3 separate regions of the Homo sapiens genome follow, and regions 1 and 3 are each linked to region 2. The links are contacts of gene promoters, found by promoter capture Hi-C in blood cells and fetal thymus (Javierre and others, 2016). All regions are on one chromosome and are shown on one strand. The core of a region is centred on a gene start or on the middle of the fragment in contact, and the rest is flanking DNA. Distances in the headings are between cores, read along the strand shown. Region 1 holds the start of SPRR2G (small proline rich protein 2G). Region 2 holds the start of SPRR5 (small proline rich protein 5). Region 3 overlaps LOC101928009 (a long non-coding RNA gene).

The links. Contacts are between HindIII fragments. The CHiCAGO score rates a contact against its expected background, and 5 or more counts as called.
Region 1: the fragment with the promoter of SPRR2G here is called in contact with the fragment with the promoter of SPRR5 in region 2 in 8 of 17 cell types (endothelial precursors, M1 macrophages, naive CD4 T cells and 5 more); the score reaches 7.1 in endothelial precursors.
Region 3: a fragment that was not itself captured here is called in contact with the fragment with the promoter of SPRR5 in region 2 in 2 of 17 cell types (M1 macrophages and M2 macrophages); the score reaches 7.0 in M1 macrophages.

Annotation. Positions count from the first base shown.
Region 1 is chr1:153,149,266-153,152,370 of GRCh38, forward strand. It overlaps SPRR2G (small proline rich protein 2G), which reads right to left and starts at 1,625. Exons shown (of 2, transcript NM_001014291.4): 1 at 1,587-1,625; 2 at 317-866. The coding sequence starts at 845. The coding sequence ends at 624. The HindIII fragment of the contact is 711 bases long and covers 1,565-2,275 here.
Region 2 is chr1:152,945,780-152,948,691 of GRCh38, forward strand. SPRR5 (small proline rich protein 5) reads left to right here and starts at 1,427. Exons shown (of 2, transcript NM_001395435.1): 1 at 1,427-1,469; 2 at 2,758-2,912. The coding sequence starts at 2,776. The region is part of intron 1 of LINC01527 (long intergenic non-protein coding RNA 1527); the gene reads right to left. The HindIII fragment of the contact is 11,414 bases long and covers 1-2,912 here.
Region 3 is chr1:153,178,541-153,181,683 of GRCh38, forward strand. The region is part of intron 2 of LOC101928009 (a long non-coding RNA gene); the gene reads left to right. It also overlaps a transcript of SPRR2G not described here. Among named protein-coding and RNA genes, the nearest start is that of LELP1, 23 kb to the right of the region's middle. The HindIII fragment of the contact is 461 bases long and covers 1,157-1,617 here.

The sequences.
Region 1 (3,105 bases), core at 375-2,874, 200 kb after region 2:
TTGTGAATAAATCAATTGCTATGAGTACACTCAGCTGAATACATGCTCTCTTACTTTTTACAGATGATGAAACTGAAGCTAAGAGAGTTTAGGTAATTTTTTCAGCCATACAAGCTAGAAGGGGTAAAAATGAGTTTTAAACCAATAAAAGAGAATTATTTGTTGTACCGAATCCAAAACACACATTGCACGCAACACTGAATTCAGTGATGGAAAAGCCTAATAATTCTAATAATTCAATAGGAATGAAAAGGAACATTCACTTGGTGTAGTTAACAGAAGAGGTTAAAGACACGAAATGCAAACAAAAGCAATGTGGGCTTGACCATGAAACATGTGCTTTATTGGGGAGAAGCAAAAGAATAAACACACTTGCTCTCAGGATAGGAACCACCATCTACATCACAGACAGCAAAGCGAGATTAGGCAGTGATCTGGCTGCTCATCTTCCAACAACATATCGGTTTTCAGAACTAAGCCTTTTCTCTGTCAACGCTCAAGCCAGACAGAGGTTAGGGAAGATGCAGCCTCCCACTACAGCTGAAGGGAAGATGATGGAGTCCTGGGAGTAAGAAGAGCCACTGGATCTTGTTGTTTCATGGTCCTGATGAATTCTAGTGATGTTACTTGCTCTTGGGTGGATACTTCTGCTGGCAGGGTGGGTATGGTTGCACAGGAGGGCATTTATCCTGGCATGGTGGAGGTGGGCAATGCTCAGGTGGACAAGGAGGAGGCAGGTAAGGCTCAGGGCACTTCGGGGGTGGACATGGCTCTGGGCACTTTGGCGTGGGGCACACAGGAGGTGGCTGGCAGGGCTGCTTGCACTGCTGCTGCTGGTAAGACATCTCTCCTCAGTCTCAGAGAATCTGAAAGATACATACGAAACAGTGCTCATAAGAGAGACAGTCCTGTTGGTGGAGCAATTAGCTAGGACATCAAATCTCCAGTATCTAGGGACCAACTTTGATCCCTAATACAGTCTTTATGACTTTGTGAACCTTCTTCACACTTCACTTTTAGGACCTCTTACCCTCAGTTCTTCCGTCTTTCTGGCTGTTCTCTCATTCTACCATTTTCTGAAAATAAAATTGCCTATGAGACAGCAACAAATGTTGTCTGAATACAAACACTATCTGAAGAAGAAAAACTCAGATATTAAAAGTCTAGCCAATACCAAACAAATCTGTGCTCTTATCTTCCATGAGGCCCTAGTTACCAGTTTTAATGAGCTGGCTGTGGTGCTGAGCCATGAGTTTTTTAAGAGAATTGCAAAAACTTGCACCCATCACCCAAGGAGATTGCACTCCAAGAGAGATGTATTTGGAACAGATGTGAAGCAGGAGACAGAACAGCATCTTGTGTCTCTCACTCTCCTTCAGTTTAAGATTTTATATATTTGACTCCAGGTTCCTCATCACCTTCATGTTTATCTACCAAATACCAGCTAAAATTTACCTTCAAGACCTCATTATCTTCTTTTTCCTATCCATGAGGATAAATTGGTTAAAATAAACAGGCATTTCTGTACCCAGGTTAGACCCTAACACCATCCAAGTGCAAGAAAAGCTTCTAATATTTGTACTCACCAGAGTCTTCAAAGATCTACAACTGAATGGCAAGAAGATAGCATCAGTGTGGTGGAGAGTCCTTTTATAAGGGGCAGGCAGCCCTACACAGGGAACAGCCCAGGACTAGCATGATGTGCTTATTTCCCAACCAAAATACCACTTGCATGTAATCCATGCTGGTATCACAAAATTCCTAGTCCATGATCCTCCCCAGCAGGATAAGTGCACAGTGATTCACTTGGGACATTATCTCAGGTTCCTCATGCCAGTGGCAATTGTAGAACGTGACAAATTGTCTGACAATTGTGGTGCTTCCCTATAATTAGAGATGGTGCTTCTCCTACTTCCCAGCTTCCAAAGTATCCTGTATGTAAAACTACTCCCATTCAGTTGCACATGCCCAGTATCTAGCTGTGTTCTCTTTAGTAGAGACCAGTATGTGCTGATCCTGCAGCCTGGCTATATCCTAACCCTCAACTGCAGTTTTTCTTTACAACTAACTTCCCCTTTTATCATGGCCTATTGATCCTTAGGCTTTTCTTGACAATTAATTGACTTGAACAGGGTGACAAAATCATATATCAGCTTCCTAGATGCTGACAGCCCCAACCTGGGTGTGTTCTGACATGGTATTAATGGGCTTGAACAAGGCAACATCATCTCTCAGTTTTCTAGGCCATTAGAGTCATGTTGGGGCCCCTTCTTAAAGCTTCACATTTGCAGATTTACACACTAACCTCATCTCTGTGGCCCTTGTAACTATGAGTGACTTGTGGTCTACTAGAAATCCAAACTCATCTTCTCCCATTTTCTTCCAAACTGCCTTAATGTATGTGCTGCATCCATTTTGAAGCTTTTCTCCTACATGCTAATTCAATTTACTCCTTCACAATTTCTCTCTTTTGAAATGACATTTAGTAGGATTTCAGGCTTTCTTTGCACATTCGAGGAGTGAAGTTCTGTAAAGCTATTTATCCTGCTGTTTACTTCATGGATGTTTTTACCTAAATAAGTAAAGTATAGCTGGCACAGATCCCACGGATAATTTCTTAGTATAGCTTATTTAACCATATTAACACTTCAGCTAGTATTACTCACTGTCCCAACTTGGAAAAAACTTGAGTACCTTGGTTATGCATACATCTACAGCCACCACTACTGTGTGGAACTAAATATTTCCTAACCTCCTTGAAACACAGTTTACACAGCTGTAAAACAGAAATAAAAAATACACCTACCACAAAAGTCTCCTACAAAAACTCAAAGAGTGGCCTAAAATTATGCACATTACATAGTGGGTCTTCTAAGAAATATAAACTCTAAAATGTAGAAGAAATAAGAATAATAACTAATCATAACTAACCAATAATTTCAAACATGTCAAAAACAGATAATAAAGAATGGCATTGTTTAGAGTGAGGCCTATCTAGTGAAGATCCTTTCCCTGCATCCCCCATTCTTCTAGCTGTAGTCACTACTAATTAGACGGCATGGGTACCATAGCACCTACAGGGTCGGCACCTTGTTTTCCTGAGAA
Region 2 (2,912 bases), core at 177-2,676:
CTATTTAATACATGTATTACCTCACATATGTATCATTTTTGTGTGGCGAAAACACTTAAAATCTACTCATTTAGCAATTTTCATGTCACATATTGTTATTAACTATAGTCAACATGACTTCCAGTGGATTCCTTGAACTTATTCCTCCTGTCTCTTTCAACCAAGAGCTTATGACACTGGGTGGCAAGTGCCACTACTTGCCTCCAACTTTTTTCAACTTCCTATTCCATATTTCTAAGAGTGTGTCTTGCCCTAGTATTCAAAGCCCATCTCCATGGAGCACCCAACGACTGTTGACCATGCATTTTGTGCCAAACACTTGCACATACTTTAAATAAGTTGTCCATTTTAATCCTTACAACTGACATGCAGAATGGTGCTGTTACCCTCTTTAGCAGGTGAGAAAATTGAAGTGCAAAAACATCTGGTTCCTAAGGTCACCCAACTGGTAAAAGGCAGAGCCTCAGTCTGAGCACCACTTGGGAATTTTTTAAAGATGAGCTCCATCCTTTGCCAGGTATGGGAAGCATCCAAGTCTGTATCCCGTGCCACCCTTCTTTGTCCTGGAACTTCTAACAGAAGTTAGGAGGAAGAGCCAGGACTGGGGCCCCAGGAGCTCAGAACCCAGAATCCAGTCACTGTGACTCCTCCATGAGCTCACTCTAATGCAATGCTTCTTAGCTTCCCCCACCCCCTCCACCTTATGATAATCATTTCCCTGGGAACCCTGGAGTCATATGGATATGTGATATATGTAGGGAGATTTAGAGATAAGCACTATCTACTGTAACCAACCAGTTTCCCCGAATGGGGCCTAACGATTTTCCCAATAGCAGAACAGACAGAGAGTGGCAGCTGCCATTTCTTGTATAAATAACAATAGGTAAAAAATGAAAGCCTCTTGTCTTGTCTTCCCACCAGTTCAAGCTGAATGTGACTCTGAGCCTAGGTCAAGTCAAAGTCACAACTTTGCTGAGGGTGGTGGGTTTCCAAGAGAGCCATCTGCCCCCTCAGCTGTTTTCTTATGTTACCTGCATAAGCTGCCTGTCCCATCCCCTCCTCTCTGCCAACCAGAACATCCCAGAACACTGCCCTCACACCCCCACACCCAGCATGGTCGGAATGCTTGCTTGGGACCATCCTAGATGCCAGGGATCTAAGTCAAAAGTCATGAGTGGGTTTGGAAATCCAAGGAAGCCAGTCCTCGTAAAATGATGGGGAGATGAGGCAAGGGGAGGGTGAAGGCACTGTCATCTCCAAATCCCGCCATACCAGCCCTGGGGGTGAGTAAAACTTAAAATTTGAGGAAGGACAGGTGGATCCTATTGTGACTAGGGACTAATTAGGACACCCCAATCCTGGGCCACCTCATGGCCTCAGGCAGGGATGAGAGGTATATAAAAGGTAGATAGGCTCAGAGCATCCCAAACCCCTCCACACCTATCTGCTCCAGTCGCTGGTGAACCTTGGTAAGTCTGGAAAGGTAGTACCTCTTATAGCAGCCTTGCCTTGCCTGCATCCCTAACCAACTATGGACTGGGCTGATTCTCTGGGTGGTGGTCAGAAAGGATGGGTCTTTTGGGGTACCTCTTTTTTCCATATCATTTGTGACAAACCTATCTTGGGTCCAGCAAGTTATCCAGCAGAGTAGTGTGGGAGGCTGGGCTGAGCAGGGAGAAGGAGGGGGGTATCTACAAGAGGGTCAGTATCTCAGCGATGCTGCTGGCATGGTGTGGGTGTTGCATCTTGTCAGGTGCTAAGAGGGAATTAGTAGGAGAGGAGAGACCAGTTCTGGGCAGAGCAACTGGAAGGACTGTCCTTTCAAAGAAAAGAGAAGGCAGGAAGGAAAGAGAACAGACTCCCTTGGGACAGCAGAGTTGTGGATGTCCATGGAGCAAAGGGCTGCAGGGACAAGACGATGTGGCACCATGGAAGGCTCTGCTCTGGGAATCAGGAGACCTCTTTTCCCACCATCTATGCCGAGTGGCTTTGAAGCCATTCCTTCCCTCTGAGGTTTGCTTTCCTCAACTGTAATTGAGAGAGGCAAGCTAGATAGTCCATTTCATCTATCTCTAGAGTTTTCTCTTTATAAACTCCTTTAGAGAGTGGTTAAGATGCGCCTTTTAAATTGTTTATGAATTTACTTAACAAATTACAACTCTTATATAGTGTTCATTTTGTGCTACTACTCTGCATGTGTGTGTCGGTACATACATACCTACGTATGCATGCATATTTTAAGTATGTATTTTATATACTCATTTAATTTTTGCACCAACTCTAAGAGAGGTAAGTATGGAAAACCTTAGTTGCTCAAAATCATATAGTTAATAAATGATTTAGCCAGAACTCAGATCCCAGGCAATTTATTCCAGATGCCACAGGTTTTGCTATAATAGGATACAACAGTCTGCTCTTTCATTCTTCCTCTTTTTTTTCCTCTCTCTCCCTTTTCTTTTTTTATGTTTTTCTTTCTTTTCAACCCCTCCTAACATTTCTGTTTTCCCTCCCTTCCTCCTTTCCTATCTTTCCTTCCTTCCATGTTTCTTTGTCTTGAAAAGAGTTGAAATAACTTGTAAACACTTAAAGTTTACACATGCGCGCGCGCACACACACACACACACTCCTCTTAAATCTGTGAAGGGATCAGGGCAAGGTAAAAGCAGAGCAGGACAGGAATGTGGCAGGGGGTTCACCTGGGCTTAGGGTCTCTCTATGGCTCAAGTGTTCCTCATTTCTGTGTCTTTCTGTTTCCAGTTGCAAGTCCAGCCCAGAATGTCTCAGCAGAAGCAGAAGCAGTGTGCTCCCCCGCAGCAGTGCTGCCCCCCACCCCAGCAGCGCTGCCCCCCACCCCAGCAGTGCTGCCCCCCGCCTCAACAGTGCTGCCCCCCACCCCAGCAGTGCTGCCCGCC
Region 3 (3,143 bases), core at 137-2,636, 230 kb after region 2:
AATGCTTTCTCTACATCTATTCAGATGATATAATTTCTTCCTTTATTCAGTTAATTTGGTGAATTACATTTATAATATTAAATAAACCTTGCATTCTGTGACAAATCCTCTTAATATATTGCTAGACTCAATTTACTGATATTTTCTTAAGGATTTTTGCTTCTATGCTCCTGAGGAATAACGATCTGTAACTTTCTTTTCATTTAATGTCCTTGTCAAGTTTCAATATCAGGGCTACGTTAACCTGAAAAAGACTTGGTGAATATTCCCTCTTTCTCTGTTTTATGAAAGAAATTATGTATGATTGAAATTTTTATTTCTTAAGTGTGTGGTATAATTCACCAGTTAATCCTTTTGGACCTGGGGCATTCTATATGGGAAGGTTTTAAACTATGGGTTTTATTTCTGTAATAATTTTAGAGATTGTCTCAGTCAGGGTACAATGAGAGGAACAGAACCAGTTGGAAATGTACTTCAGAGATTTACTACAAGGACTCAATTTATGTGATTGCAAAGGCAGCTAGGCAAGTCTAAAATCCAGAAGTCAGGACATCAAGAGGGTAAGCTGGAACTCTGTCATAGGCTGAAGCTGTAATCCACACATATAATTTCTTCAGGGAAGATTTAGCTTGGCTTTTAAAGCCTTTCAACTGATTGAATCAGACCAGCCTGTATAAACTAGGATTTTCTCCCTTACTTAGAGTCAATTCATAATGGACTTTAATCACATCTACCTTCACAGCAACACCTAGATTAGTATTTGATTGAGTAACTAGGGACTGTCATGCAGCCAAGCTGACACGTCAAAAGACCATCACAGGGCTGTCAAGTTTTCATTTATGTGTTAGTTTTTTATTTTCAAGGAATTTGTGCTTTTCATCTAAGTTGTAGAATTCAATATGAAGTTGTTTATAATATCCACTCATTTTAAATATAACAATGTCACGCCTATCATTTGTGAAATGGTTTCATTTTTAAATATACAATATCATCGTGTGTGTGAAGGTACTCATGCCACAAACTAAATAAGGATAATAATGTTTGAAATAATGATAGTAGTCATAATAATAATTTTTAAGACCTAGGATTCATCTCTTATTCCTCTTTTCCTCACCTCCCACATACTACTTCTTCCTAGATCCCAAGTTCTGCCTTAAGCTTATTATCACTTCTCATCTTCTCATTATCTTCAATGTTCTTACCCTAATTAGAGCCACCATCACCCTCACCTGAACCACTGCAGAAGTTTCCTATCTTGTGTCCTGATTTCTATCTTGTCTCCGTATTCCTATCTTGTGCCACAGCAATCCCATATCAGAACAACCACAGCAATCATATAAAATATAGAGAAGATTATGTCCTCCCTAATTGAAATGATCAAATATCTTGCCATTGTATCTAGAGAAAAGTCTGAAGACCTTACTGTCCTACAAAGCACTTCATGCTGTGGCACTGACTCTTATGCTGACTTCATCATATCTTTCTTTCCTTGTTCACTAAGTTGCAGGAATATTGGCATTCTGGTGGCTTCCTTCCCTTTAAAGTAACCTTTTAACTGACTAAAATTGAAGTATAAATTAATAAAAGCTCACCAAGTACAGGTATACAACTTAATAAAGCTTCATAAGCTAAACAACCATGCAACCAATGCACAAATGAAGAAATAACATGTTACCAGCATCTCAGAAGCAGTCCACCTGGGAAGCAGGTTCTCAAAAGCAGTCCGAGTCACTACCAGCCCCCAAACATTAACTTTTTCCTGGCATCTAACACTGTACATTTGTTCTTCATGTTCTGAACTGTATATAAAGGGAATCATACAGTATGAACTCTTTGGTGCCTGGATTTTTTTTCCCCAAAATTGTGTTTGTGATACTGATTCATTTTCTGGTTTGTAGATATAGATCGTTGATTCTCATTGCTGTATGGTATTTCTCTATGAGAATATACTACCATTTATGCATCCATTTTATTGCTAAAAGGTATTTTAGTAGTTTCCAATTTGGAATTTTTAAAAATAGTGCTAATGTGAATATTTACGTATTTGTCCTTTTGTGACTATATGTACACACTTCTGTTAGGTACATACCTAGGAAAATATAATGACTGGGTCAGAGGATAGGGATATGCTCAGCTCTAGTGAATACTGTTAACTTTTCCAAATTCTTTCTACCATCTATTATTCCCATCAGCAGTGTGTGAAAGTTTCAATTGCTCCACACTCTGTCTAAACTTGGTATTGTCTATCTTTTTTCGTGTTAGCCATTTCGGTGGCTATGTGGAGATAACACGTTGTGACTTGAATTTGCATTTCTCTTATGAATGGTGAGATTAAACTCTTTATTATATGTTTATTGGAAATACAGAAATGCCCTTTCATGAATTGCCTGTTCAGGTTGTTCAGATATTTTTCTATTTGCTCATTTCTTGTTTTTTTGTTGATCTGTGAGTAGGAACACATGTGTATATATGTTCTGGGAACAAGCCCTTTGTTAAATATAGATATTACATACAGCTTCTCCATCTCTGTGGCTTGGCATTTTGCAATCTTGGTGGTGTTTTTGATAATCAGAAATTTTTAATTTTAATGAAATCCAATTTGTCATTTTTCCACCTTATTGGTATGCTTTTTATTACCTGATTAAGGAATCTTTCCTATTGACAAGATCTGAAGACATTCTCCCAGAGTTTAGAATTTTGTTTGTTTGTTTTTGGTTGTGTAATATATTTTTATTTTCTATGGGTACATAATATACATATTTATGGGGTACATGTGACATTTTGCTACACACATAGAATGTATAATGATCAAGTCACAGTATTTAGAATATCCATCACCGTGAGCATTTATCGTTTATCTGTGGTGAGTACATTTCAGTTCCTCACTTCCAGATATTTTGAAAGATACAACACATTCTCATTAACTATAGTCAGCTCACTCTAATATCAGTCATTAGAACTTGTTTATTCTATTTAACTATATGTTTGTACCCATTAACCAACCTCTCTTTATCCCCCACAACCCCATGCACATACACGCCTTTCCCAGCCTCTGGTAACTATCATTCTATTCTCTACCTTCATGAAATCACCATTTTTAGCTCCCACATATGATGGAACAGGTGATCATTGTCTTTCTGTGT